2 separate regions of the Homo sapiens genome follow, and region 2 is linked to region 1. Evidence: promoter capture Hi-C in 16 types of primary human blood cells and fetal thymus (Javierre and others, 2016). All regions are on one chromosome and are shown on one strand. The core of a region is centred on a gene start or on the middle of the fragment in contact, and the rest is flanking DNA. Distances in the headings are between cores, read along the strand shown.

What was found. The method cuts DNA at HindIII sites, captures the fragments that hold promoters and counts their contacts. A CHiCAGO score of 5 or more calls a contact.
Region 2: a contact is called between a fragment that was not itself captured here and the fragment with the promoter of CDC25C in region 1, in 1 of 17 cell types (neutrophils). The highest score is 5.0, in neutrophils.

What each region holds. Positions count from the first base shown.
Region 1 is chr5:138,330,289-138,336,918 of GRCh38, reverse strand. CDC25C (cell division cycle 25C) reads left to right here and starts at 5,115. Exons shown (of 14, transcript NM_001790.5): 1 at 5,115-5,324; 2 at 5,701-5,932. The coding sequence starts at 5,739. LOC100128966 (a long non-coding RNA gene) reads right to left here and starts at 4,814. Exons shown (of 4, transcript NR_146628.1): 1 at 4,734-4,814; 2 at 3,391-3,486; 3 at 1,434-1,534; 4 at 1-45. RefSeq lists a silencer at 4,793-5,052 and enhancers at 5,103-5,152, 5,163-5,292, 5,004-5,957. The HindIII fragment of the contact is 22,786 bases long and covers 1-6,630 here.
Region 2 is chr5:138,039,229-138,045,492 of GRCh38, reverse strand. It overlaps a transcript of FAM13B not described here. Among named protein-coding and RNA genes, the nearest start is that of FAM13B, 9.3 kb to the right of the region's middle. The HindIII fragment of the contact is 5,363 bases long and covers 1,245-6,264 here.

The DNA of each region.
Region 1 (6,630 bases), core at 3,866-6,365:
ACTGAGCCAGGGAGGGGAGGAGGCAGGAGCCACCAAGTCTACAAACTGAAAAAGAGTAGAGGAAAAATGAGGTACAGTACTAACTGAGAAAATAGGGGTGGAAAGATTTACCTTGCACTGCTTATTTCCCCTTGGCAAAAGGAGCAGAGTTAGGGGCCATGAAGTAGGGGACACATGGTTTCCAATAATTGCTCTTATGTACCAGACACCATGCTACATTTTTTTTTTTTTGTAAAAACAGGGTCTTGCTGTTGCTCAGGCTGGAGTGCACTGAGGCGATCACAGCTCACTGCAGCCTTGAACTTCTGGGCTCAAGCAATCCTTTCCATCTCAGCCTCCTGAATAGCTAGAACTACAGGGGTGTGCCACCATGCCCAGCATATTTATTTCTATTTTTGTAGAGAGAGGCGTCTTGCTATGTTGCCCAGGGTAGTCTCAAACTCCTGGCCTCAAACAATCTTCCCATCTTGGCCTCACAAAGTGCTGGGATTGGCGTGGTGTCTCACACCTGTAATCCTAGCACTTTGGGAGGCTGAGGCAGACGGATCACCTGAGGTCAGGAGTTCGAGACCAGCCTGGCAACAAAGTGAAACCCCGTCTCTACTAAAAAATACAAAAATTAGCTGGGCATTGTGGCGCCCATCTGTAATCCCAGCTACTCGGGAGGCTGAGGCAGGAGAATCGCTTGAACCGGGGAGGCAGAGATTGCAGTGAGCCGAGATTGTGCCACTGCACTCCAGCCTGGGCAACAGAATGAGACTCTGTCTCAAAAAAAAAAAAAAACAAATGAACAAAAAACGAAGTGCTGGGATTCCAGGTGTGAACCACCACACTTGACCTACATACTTTGATATATATTCTCATTTTTTCTTACAATCATCAAATGAAACAAAACCTTCTCTTTGACAAATGAAACAGCCCAAGAAGTTAAGTGACTGCCCACATGGTAGGCAAAGGTACTCTCAAAAAGCAGTCTAAAAGCCCTTGCTTTTCACCACTAAGCTGTTCACCTTTTTATTATTAATTAAATTAATAATTTAATTATTATGAATTAAATGGTTGAGTTAAAAGTAGGCATTGGCTCATTTGCAAAACATTGAAAGAAACTGAGACCCAAAACAAAACAAAAAAAACAAAACAAAAAAAAAAACCCTGCAAGTCAAGTTTCAGGCCTCATTTCAAAGGAAGGTTACATCCCCTTTCGTCATCTATAAAATGGCCTCCCAGTGCAGCCCAACACTCCTACCCATAATTAAATCTCCTTATTCCACTTTTAGTTCCCAAGGATTTTTTACTCATGTCCTGCTCTTTCCCTGCTGCCCCCTTTTTAGTCTTTTGTTCTTGAGCCACTGCTTTGAACTGCATCTTAATTATGCCCTCATGGGCCAAACCCCATCTGTGACCCTGCTCCAGTGGGTTTCAGCAAAGGATACTCTCCATCCATATTCTGAGGGCTCCAGGGCCTGGAGCCAGTCATCCAGGAGGTCATCCAAAGGAGTGGAATCCATTGGTTCTAAGACTCTTCATTCCCTGCCTAGGAAGGAACAGCCGAGTTGGAGGAACATGCACTCGATTCAGACCTTCCCTTTTCACCCAGTGAAAGCTAAACCTCTGCAAAGTGGGGAGAAGTAGGGCTAAGCCTACCAGTCATAAAAAGAACCAGGAATAGAAAACACACCCCTCAGCCCCTCTGCCCTGCAGAGGCTGGCTGGGAGGATCCCAGGAATGCAGGGCTCTTCTCCACTGCCTGATCTGGGCATCCCAGGAGTGATGGCTGTACCTCCTGTTCTTGTTTGGTGTTTCAGGGTGAAGCCCGGGCTGTCACTGTGCCCTGGCAACAACATGTATGAGTCAGACTGAGGTCAAGGTGAAGGAACACAGCTCACTGCTTATCACAGTGAATCAGGAGCCTAGATAGGGATTCCCCAAGGATGACATAGGATCAATGCCCTCAATCCAACAGAAAAAGTAAATCTTCAAATCAGATTAAACACCAAACTTCCCACCTCCCTAATATTCTTTCTTCTGGGAAGGATAACTTAGATATATTCCAACACCCTCATAAATCAAGATATAAAAGACAATATTTGACTTCCCTTTAAAATAATTCTACCATTTCACAGTTTGTATGTATGCATGTAAACTTACATGTAATTAGCTAAGTATGTTGCAATTAGCTAAGCCAGCTGGAATCATGAGGAGATAGTGAAAATGTTTGCTAGGAAAACAACCTCATTAACAAACGTAGAGCTTTTAAGAGTTTTGTTGGCTGGGCATGGTGGCTCACACCTGTAATCCCAGCACTTTGGGAGGCCGAGGTGGGTGGATTACCTCAGGTCAGGAGTTTGAGACCAGCCTGGCCAACACAGCGAAACCCTGTCTCAACTAAAAATACAAAAATTAGCCAGGTGTGGTGGCGCATGCCTGTAATCCCAGCTACTCAGGAGGCTGAGGCAAGAGAATCACTTGAACAGAGGTTGCAGTGAGCTGAGATTGCGCCATTGCACTCCAGCCTAGGCAACAAGAAAGAAACTGTCTCAAAAAAAAAAAGTTTTTTTGTTGTTGTTTTTAGGAGACAGTCTCACTATGTTGCCCAGGCTGGCCTCAAACTCCTGGGCTCAAGTGATCCTCCCAAGTAGCTGGGACTACAGGCGCACCACTGCATCTGTAAAAAGTCTTAAGGGCGGCCGGGCGCAGTGGCTCATGCCTGTAATCCCAGCACTTTGGGAGGCCGAGGTGGGTGGATCATTTGAGGTCAGGAGTTCCAGAACAGCCTGGACAATATGGTGAAACCCCACCTCTATTAAAAATACAAAAATCAGCCAGGCGTGGTGGCGGGCACCTGTAGTCCCAGCTACTCGGGAGGCTGAGGCAGGAGAATAACTTGAACCCAGGAGGCAGAGGTTGCAGTGGGCCAAGATTGCGCCACTGTACTCTAGCCCGGGAGAGAGCGAGACTCCATCTTAAAAAAAAAAAAAATACTCTTAAGAGCTAGGTGTATAAGTTCCATTTGAGAAATCTCAGAAACTTATTTTTGGGGCTAGATTTTTGGAGAATTTGTTTTAGGAATGCTGCAACTTTGTCAGAGTGCTCAGATTTTAGTATATTTCCATCACCTGACATTGAACTAAAGCCACTTGGCTGACACCTTTGTTGTGACCACCCACAACTGCACTTACTTGAGGACCTGGTGCAGAAAGCACTGGTAGCCAGGTGTGCACTTGCCATAATCTATCTGCTTTTGCCACCAATAGAGAATAACTTTGTCTCTACTTCCCACCTGCAGGGAAGTATACAATTTCCCACAAAGTGTGATTATACTGTAGTCGTCAAAGCAGATAACAACTCATCCCACACTCCCTTAATCCCCAGCCTGATTTTCAAACTCACCTGGCATAGCAAGGTTCTGTGCTAACTCCTACACTCACTGTCTGTATCCTAGAGGACAAAGAATCTTCACACATCTCCTTTCTGGGGAAGCAGGTTCTGCAGATGAAAAGGGTATTAGGATAAAAACCAGCTGGCTACACTGTGCCTCTCAGCCACTACCACCACCAAGATCCTGACAACAGACACAAGTTGCATTTTGACTTTTGTTTCTCAAAGCATGATCTGCAAGCCGTCTGCATGGGTAGCACCTGGGGGCCTTGATAATGACCCCACTTTAGACCTATCGAATTATCGTTTTTGGAGCCTACATCTTAAAGAGCTTCCAAGGTTATTTTGAACATTTTTATTATGGAAATTTTCAAATATACATTGAAGTAAGAAGTATGGGGTAATACCTTACCACGCAAAGTATGGTCGTAGGACCAGCTACCTCACCATCAGCTGGGGGCTTGTTAGAAGGGCAGAATCTTGGGCCGCAACCGCAACCCAGACATCCCGAATCAGAATCTGCATTTAGCAGGTCCTCAGGTGGTTAGTGTGCAAATTAAACCTTGAGAAGCACAGATATGATGGACCCTCCTGCCCCCATCACTCAACAGTCAGGGTCAATCTTGTATCATCAATACCTTCCCCCAGCACAGGATTATTTAAAAGCAAATCCCTAACATTAGGAATGTCTTTTTGTTTGTTTCACTCTAATGCCCAGGCTGGAGTGCAGTGGCGCAACCTCTGTCTCCCGAGTTCAAGCAGTTCTCATGCCTCAGCCTCCCAAGTAGCTGGGATTACAGGTGTGTGCCACCACAACCGGCTAAATTTTGTATTTTTAGTAGAGACGGGGTTTCATCATGTTGGCCAGGCTGGTTTTGAACCCCTGACCTCATGTAATCTGCCCGCCTCGGCCTCCCAAAGTGCTGGGATTACAGGTGTGGGCCAACGCGTCCGGCCAATAATTTATAAATATCACCTCGTCAATGTTCAAATTTTCATTAATAACCAATCTTTGAGGTCCTCTGGATTGCGATAAGGATTATACCAAGATGATTTAATTCCTCCACTTTCCCTGCAACGGAATTTCTTTTTACCCACGTGAGCTAGAGTCTCTGAGATGCTGCACACTAAAAGAAACACCAAACAAAGCTCTTGGAAGGGGCTAATGCCTCTCAGCATAAACACACACACCCGTCTCGCCCCAACACTTGCCACGCCGGCAGCAAACGCTCCATCTCCCGTGGAAGGCCAGCAAAACTTAGAAGAAAACGTCCGCGAAAACGGCACGAGAAAGAAGCGAAGAAAATGAAACGCTTACAACACCCTCCACCCAAAATAATCTCTCCTAGTATTACCCTAGTGAATGGACATCACTAGTAAGGCGCGGTTTAAATCTCCCGGGGTTCGTGGGGCTGAGGGAACGAGGAAAACAGAAAGGGTGTGGAGATTGGTGAGAGGGAGAGCCAATGATGCGCCAGGCTCCCCGTGAGGCGGAGCTTACCCCGCAGCCTGCCTAACGCTGGTGGGCCAAACACTATCCTGCTCTGGCTATGGGGCGGGGCAAGTCTTACCATTTCCAGAGCAAGCACACGCCCCCAGGTGATCTGCGAGCCCAACGATAGGCCATGAGGCCCTGGGCGCGCGCGCGGAGATTGGCTGACGCAGCTTAGAGGCGAGCGGGGATAGGTTACTGGGCTGGCGGAAGGTTTGAATGGTCAACGCCTGCGGCTGTTGATATTCTTGCTCAGAGGCCGTAACTTTGGCCTTCTGCTCAGGGAAGACTCTGAGTCCGACGTTGGCCTACCCAGTCGGAAGGCAGAGCTGCAATCTAGTTAACTACCTCCTTTCCCCTAGATTTCCTTTCATTCTGCTCAAGTCTTCGCCTGTGTCCGATCCCTATCTACTTTCTCTCCTCTTGTAGGCAAGCCTCAGACTCCAGGCTTGAGGTAAGTCCGCAGCCGTCTCCGCCACGGAATCACGGAGACCCCATTGTCCCCCTTAGGGTCCAGTCGGGCCCCCACAGACAGAGGTTGGGAGGGCCGAATGGGGACTATCGCGAGTTACGAGACCCGGGTTCTTTCTAGTCAGGAGTCTCGAGCTGTGTGGCGTGGAACAAGTCAAAATCCTCTCTTCATTCCATCTTTAAGGTCCTAAGGTTGCCTCTCGTCGGTGAATTCAGGTTCTAACCTTAAGCCAGGCTGTGAATCACCCTTCGGGGTTGCCCCTCTTCCAGTGTTGATTCGCCTGGCTGGAAAGGGTGGAGGAGTTTAGGAAAGCTGAGGGAACTGTGATGTACCGATTTAGATGACGTTTTCCTCCTAGCTAGGTTTTGTTTTTCTCCTGGTGAGAATTCGAAGACCATGTCTACGGAACTCTTCTCATCCACAAGAGAGGAAGGAAGCTCTGGCTCAGGACCCAGTTTTAGGTCTAATCAAAGGAAAATGTTAAACCTGCTCCTGGAGAGAGACACTTCCTTTACCGTCTGTCCAGATGTCCCTAGAACTCCAGTGGGCAAATTTCTTGGTGATTCTGCAAACCTAAGCATTTTGTCTGGGTAAATATACTTTTATTTTTACACTGTATTGCCTTTGCTATTTCCAAACAGTTGGGTTTGTTTGTTGGTTTGTTTTCAATTATCCCGGCTCAAAGGTCAGGCTTTAAGTCTCAACTCTGCCCTTGACTGTGTAACCCTTTTGAGTCTCACCTTCTTTTCTGTGACAAGAAATAATCTCAGCCAGGCGAGGTGGCTCATGCCTGTAATCTCCGCACTTTGGGAGGCCAAGGAGGGCGGATCGCCTGAGTCTAGGAGTTCAAGACCAGCCTGGGCAACATGGCAAGACGCCGTCTCTACAAAAAATATTAAAAGTTAGCTGAGTGTGGTGGTGTGCACCTATAGTCCCAGCAACTCGGGAGGCTGAGGTGGGAGGATTGCTTGAGCCCGGGAGGTGGAGGCTGCAGTTAGCCAAGATCGCCTCACTGCACTTCAGCCTGGGAAACAGAGTGAGACTCTATCTCAAAAAGAAAAGAAAAGACAAAGAAATAATAATCGCTTCCTATCTTACTAGGATCTTGTGAGAATCAAATGATGTGATAACTGGGAAAAGTCTTTGAAAACCGCTGCATTACGAGTCGGTCACTTTATTAGTATTAATATTAGTGTTATTGCAGTTGTACTTTGAATTCTGATCATACCATGTCTCAACTAGCAAAGAGAAGTAGTACCTGAGAAAAACTAGGGACCCCAGGGAGAAA
Region 2 (6,264 bases), core at 2,677-5,176, 290 kb after region 1:
GGTACAGTCTTGGCTCACTGCAGCCTCTGCCTCCCAGGCTCAAACCATCCTCCCACTCAGCCTCCTGAGTAGCTGCGATTACAGGTGTGTGCCACTGTGCTTGGCTAATTTTTGTATTTTTTGTAGAGATAGGGTTTTGCCATGTTACCCAGGCTTGTCTCGAACTCCTGAGCTCAAGTGATCTGCCTGCCTCAGCCTCCCAAAGGGCTAGGATTACAGGTATGAGCCACCATGCCTGGCCTCATTCTTTTCTCATTCTTGTATGTATTTCCTTGTATGGTCTATCCTTCTGTGGCTGGAGTGTTTTGTTTCCATTTTTGGACTATTAGAATTAATGCAGATGTGAACATTTTTATACCTATATTCTGCTACCTTTGTGCACACAGATCTCCAGAGTATATACTCAGGAGTGGAACTGTTTAGTTCTAGAGATATTATGTTTTCAATTTTAGAATTTACACTGCTACTAGCAGTGAAAGAGATTCTGCTCTTCCACATCACTTGATACTATCAGACTTACTAATTTTGGCCATGCTGGCGAGTTTATTATGGTGGATGTAAAGTTGTATTTTTTAGTTTGCGTTTCCCTGATTACTAATGTGGTTGAGTATTTTTCATACATGTGTTGGCCATTTGGATTTCCTTTTATGATGCAATCCCTATAAAAAGTTTATTTTTGTAATTTCATATTAGATTGTCTTTTTAAAAAATTTAAAATTTATTTCCAGAAGTTCTCTATATCATGTAGATAGTAGTCCTTTTTGGGTTGAATGTTTTGTAGCTAACTTTTCCAGTCTTTTGGCTTGAACTTTCACTTTTTTAATGGTGTCAAATGTAAAATAGCTGAATTTATCAATCCTTACTGTACCGTGAAAAGGTTGTGTTTTATTTAAGAATCACGAAGACATTGTCTTATATTATCCGTTTTTTTTTTTTTTTTCGAGATGGAGTCTTGCTCTGTCGCCCAGGCTGGAGTGCAATGGTGTGATCTTGGGTCACTGCAACCTCCGCCCCCTGGGTTCAAGTGATTCTCCTGCCTCAGCCTCCTGAGTAGCTGGAATTACAGGCGTGTGCCACCATGCCTGGCTAATTTTTGTATTTTTATTAGAGACTGGGTTTCACCACATTGGTCAGGCTGGTCTCGAACTCCTGACCTCAGGTGATCCGCTCACCTTGGCCTCCCAAAGTGCTGGGAATAGAGGCATGAGCCACAGCGCCCGGCCTATTATCTTTTTTTAAAAGCTTACTTTAAAATATCTTTTTTAGGCTGGTGCAGTGGCTCATGCTTGTAATCCTAGCACTTTGGGAGGCTGAAGTGGGAGGATCGCTTGAGGCCAGGAGTTCAAGACCAGCCTGGGCAACATAGCAAGACTTTGTCTCTACCAAAAAAATAAAAAATACATAAAAAAAGCTAGGTGTGACAGCATGTGCCTATAGTTCCAGCTACATAGGAGGTTGAGGTGGGAGGATCACTTGAGCCCAGGAGTTCTGGGCTACCATGAGCTATAATGGAGCCACTGTACTCCAGCCTGGGAGATGGAGTGAGACACTTTCTCTAATAAAAATACCAAAATACCCCCCTTTTCATTGTGCAATATTCATATAGAAAATGTCCTGGCTGGGTATGGTGGCTCATACCTGGTAATCCCAGCACTTTGGGAAGGTGAGGCAAAAGGATTGCTTGAGCCCAGGAGTTTGAGACCAGCCTGGGCAACAGAGAGAGATCCCATTTCTGTTAAAAAAAGAAAAAAAAGAGGCCGGGTGCGGTGGCTGACGCCTATAATTTCAGCACTTTGGGAGGCCGAGGCAGGCGGATCATGAGGTCAGGAGTTCGAGACCAGTCTGACCAACATGGTGAAACCCTGTCTCTACTAAAATACAAAAAATCAGCCGGGCGTGGTGGCGTGCGCCTGTAGTCCCAGCTACTTGGGAGGCTGAGGCAGGGGAATTGCTTGAACCTGAGAGGTGGAGGTTGCAGTGAGCCGAGATCGCACCACTGCACTTCGGCCTGGCGACAGAGCAAGACTCTGTCTCAAAAAAAAAAAAAAAAGAAAGAAAGAAAAAAAAGAATAATGCCCGAACAAGGTAAACACAGGTCAATAATTTATTCTTATTTATTATTTATTTTTTGAGACAGGGTCTCTCTCTGTCATCCAGGGTGGAGTGCAGTGGCACAATCATGGATCACTGCAGCTTTGACCTGGCCTCAAGCAATCCTCCCACCTCAGCCTCCTGAGTAGCTGGGACTACAAGTGTGTTACCATGCCTGGCTAATTTTTAATTTTATTTTTTATAGAGACAGGGTCTCACTATGGTGCTCAGGCTGGTCTCCAATTCCTGGCCTCAAGTGATTCTTGCTGGCCTGGTCAATTTCTTCTTTTGTTGTTGTTCTTTTTTATTTGAGATGGAGTCTGGCTCTGTTGCCCAGGCTGGGATGAAGTGGCACGATCTCAGCTCACTGTAACCTCCACTTCCTGGGTTCGAGTGATTCTTCTGCCTCAGCCTCCCGAGTAGCTGGGACTACAGGCATGCGCCACCACACCCGGCTACTTTTTGTATTTTTAGTAGAAACAGGGTTTCACCATGTTAGCCAGGCTGGTCTTGAACTCCTGGCTTCAGGTGGTCCACCCTCCTCAGCCTCCCAAAGTGCTGGGATTATAGGCATGACCCACCGCGCCTGGCCCCTGGTCAATTTAATACAAAGCAAACACCCATGTAACCACCACAGCTCATATCAAGAATAAGAGCATTCTTATTTTTGTGTCTCCACGAACTCTTGCCCCTCGTTCCCAGAAGAACCAGAACCAGTATCATGATGTCTATGATAGTCACTTCCTGGCTTTTTTTTTTTTTCTTTTAAGTTTTTCCCCTAATTTGTATCCCTAAACATGATGATTTAGTTTTGCTTTTTTTGGGAAACACTGTTATATTTAATTTCAATTAAAGAAAAAACTTAAAAACTTAAGGAGCTAGTTTTTATTTTTAAACTTTTTGAAATATAAAATACATATGGAGAAGTATACAGATCATGAGTACAGCTCACTGAATTGTCCCTAGGTGAACATATATGTGCAACTTCCCCCTAGGTTAAGAAATGGAATATCTTCTCATGACCCCTCCTTATTATTGATTTCTTCCTTCCTCAAAAAGACTTCCCTCCTTAACCACAATTCTGACTTCTAAAATGATAGTTTAGTTTTCCCTGCTTTTGAACTGTTTTTAACGGATTCATACAGTATTTGTTTGTGTCTGGCTTCTTTCATTTATTTTTGTGATTCATCACATTGTTGTTTGTAGCTGTAGTTTGTTCATTTTCATTGTTTACATGGTATGAAGATACCATACTGTATTAATCATTCATCATTCTATCATTGCTATCTACCTGAGCTTGAGTTTCCATTTTTTTCACCAATATAAAAAATGCAGCTATGAACTTCAGGGTCTTCCCCTGTTGTGCAGGCTGGAGTGCAGTGGTGCAGTCATAGTTCACTGTAACCTTGAACTTCCGGGCTCAAAAAATCCTCCTGCCTCAGCCTCCTGACTAGCTGGGATTACAGGTGCAAACCACTGTGCCTGGCTATTAATATTTTTTTTTTTTTTGAGACAGGGTCTTGCTCTGCCACCCAGGCTGGAGTGCGGTGGTGCTTACTGCAGGCTTGAATTACCAGGTTCAGGTGATTCTCCTGTCTCAGTACCACCCCCCACCCCCAATTTTTTTTTTTGAGATGGGGTCTTGCTATGTTGCCCAGGCTGGTTTCAAACTCCTGGCCTTAAGCAATCCTCCTGCCTTGGCCTCCCAAAGTGCTGGGATTATGGGTGTGAACCACCATGCCCAGCTCTTTGACTTTTAATTAGGAATTAATATATTTACACTGATTGTAATTACTCATATTTGAATTTATTTCTGCTATCTAATGTTTTACTATTTGTCCTCCTTAAACATTTTTTATCCATTTTTAAAATTAAGATCTTCCTATTTTATTTTATCCCCCTAATAAACTGGAAGTTATATATACTGTTTAATTTCTTGTACTGATTATGTAGAAATTTTAACATGTATATTTAACTCAACAAATTATAGACTTATTTAGCCTCCTCTTAAACAATACAAAGCCTTCTAATACTTTAATTTACCCTCTCACAATAGTATATGTTAAATTATTGAACAATAGTAGAATTTAGATATTGTTGCCATTATTTTGGATAGTGTTTAGATTTACAGCAAACATGCAAACAATTTTCTTTGTTCACCATTACTTCTCGCATTTTGGATCTTCCTTCTGGAAGATGGTAATTTTCTCTTAACATTTTGAAGATACGCTGCAGTATCATTTGGCTTCTATTGTTACTATTGAAAGGTCAGCTGTCAGCCAAATTATCTTTTCTTTGAAGATTAGTGTCTTTTCTTTTCTTTTTTTTTTTTTTTTTTGAGATGGAGTCTTGCTCTGTTGCCTAGGCTGGAGTGCAGTGGCGCAATCTCAGCTCACTGCAACCTCTGCCTCCCAGGTTCAAGTGATTCTCCTGCCTTAGCCTCTCGAGTAGCTGGGATTACAGGCGTGTGCCACCACACCCAGCTAATTTTTGTAATTTTAGTAGAGGCAGGGTTTTGCCATGTTGGTCAGGCTGGTCTCGAACTCCTGACCTCAGGCAATCTGCTCATGTTGGCCTCCCAGAGTGCTGGGATTACAGGCGTGAGCCACTGTGCCCGGCCTAATGTCTTTTCTTGCTGCCTAATTTTAAGATCCCCTTTCTCTCTGGGTACTAAATTTTATGTGTGCATTTTATACTTTTCAGCATGGCAAGTTTTGGTCTTCCAGAATTTAGGATATTTACCTTCAATTCTGGAAAATGTTCAGCCACTATTTCTTTGAATATTGTCTTCCCTCCATTCTATTATCTCCTTCTTTTTTGTTTGTTTTGTTTTTGAGACGGTGTCTACGTCGCCCAGGCTGGAGTGCAGTGGCGCGATCTCGGCTCACGGTAATCTCCGCCTCCCAGATTCAAGCAATTCTCCTGCCTCAGCCTCCTGAGTAGCTGGGATCACAGGCATGCACCACCATGCCGAGCTAATTTTTTTTAATATTTTTAGTAGAGACAGCGTTTCACCATATTGGCCAGGCTGGTCTGGAATTCCTGACCTTGTGATCGGCCCGCCTCGGCCTCCCAAAGTGCTGGGATTACAGGCTTGAGCCACCGTGCCCGGCCTTTTTTTTTTTTTTTTTTTTTTTTTGAGACAGAGTCTTGCTCTGTCGCCAGGCTGAAGTGCAGTGGTGCAATCTCGGCTCACTGCAACCTCTGCCTCCTGGGTTCAAATGATTCTCCTGCCTCAGCCTCCCCAGTAGCTGGGATTACAGGCATGCGCCACTACGCCTAGCTAACTTTGTATTTTTAGTAGAGATGGGGTTTCACTATGTTGGTCAGGCTGGTCTTGAACTCCTGACCTCGTGATCCGCCTTCCTCGGCCTCCCAAAGTGCTGGGATTACAGGCTTGAACCACCGTGCCCGGCCAGGTTGGTTTCTTTCTATGAAGGCCTAAAATAGGGATGTACACCTTCATGTTTTGGAGCTTCTCTGCTGATGAGCTTGGGGATTCAGAAAACATTAAATGCTTCTGTAAATTGTTATATACTCTAGTGGAAAAGAGTAGTTAGGTGTAAATGTTTGGCAAAAAATACAGCTGTAGTTAAACTGCAAACTGCAAACATTGGCGTTGTCAGTTTGCCACAGAAAATGTGGTCTGAATGGAAGGTGCCTGAAGGCTAGGCATGGTGGCTCATGCCTGTAATCCCAGCACTTTGGGAGGCCGAGGTGGGAGGATCTCTTGAGCCCAGGAGTTAGAGGCCACCCTGGGCAATGTAGTGATAATACGTCTCTAAGAAAAAAAAAAAAAAAAGCTGGGCATGGTGGCACATGCCTGTAGTCCCAGATACTTGGGAGGCTGAGGTGGGAGGATTGCTTGAGCCTGGGATACTGAGGCTGCAGTGAGCTATAATTGGGCCACTGGACCCAGACCCTGACTCAAAGGGGAAAAAAAAGGTGCTGAGAAGCAACTTGGCTGGTCAAATGATAGGAAGGCTCAAAAGCCTAGAGCCTGTAAGGAACAGGTAGGATATGCAAAATGGTGAGACCCTCCTGCCTAGATTTCTGGTTAAAAAGGCAGCAGAAAGTTCATGATTTTGTGAAGGTCATAATCTCACTGAATCTCAGAGCAGTTTTTTCTTTCCCCTATATGGATACAGGCAGAGGGAAGAAGAGAAAGGGATA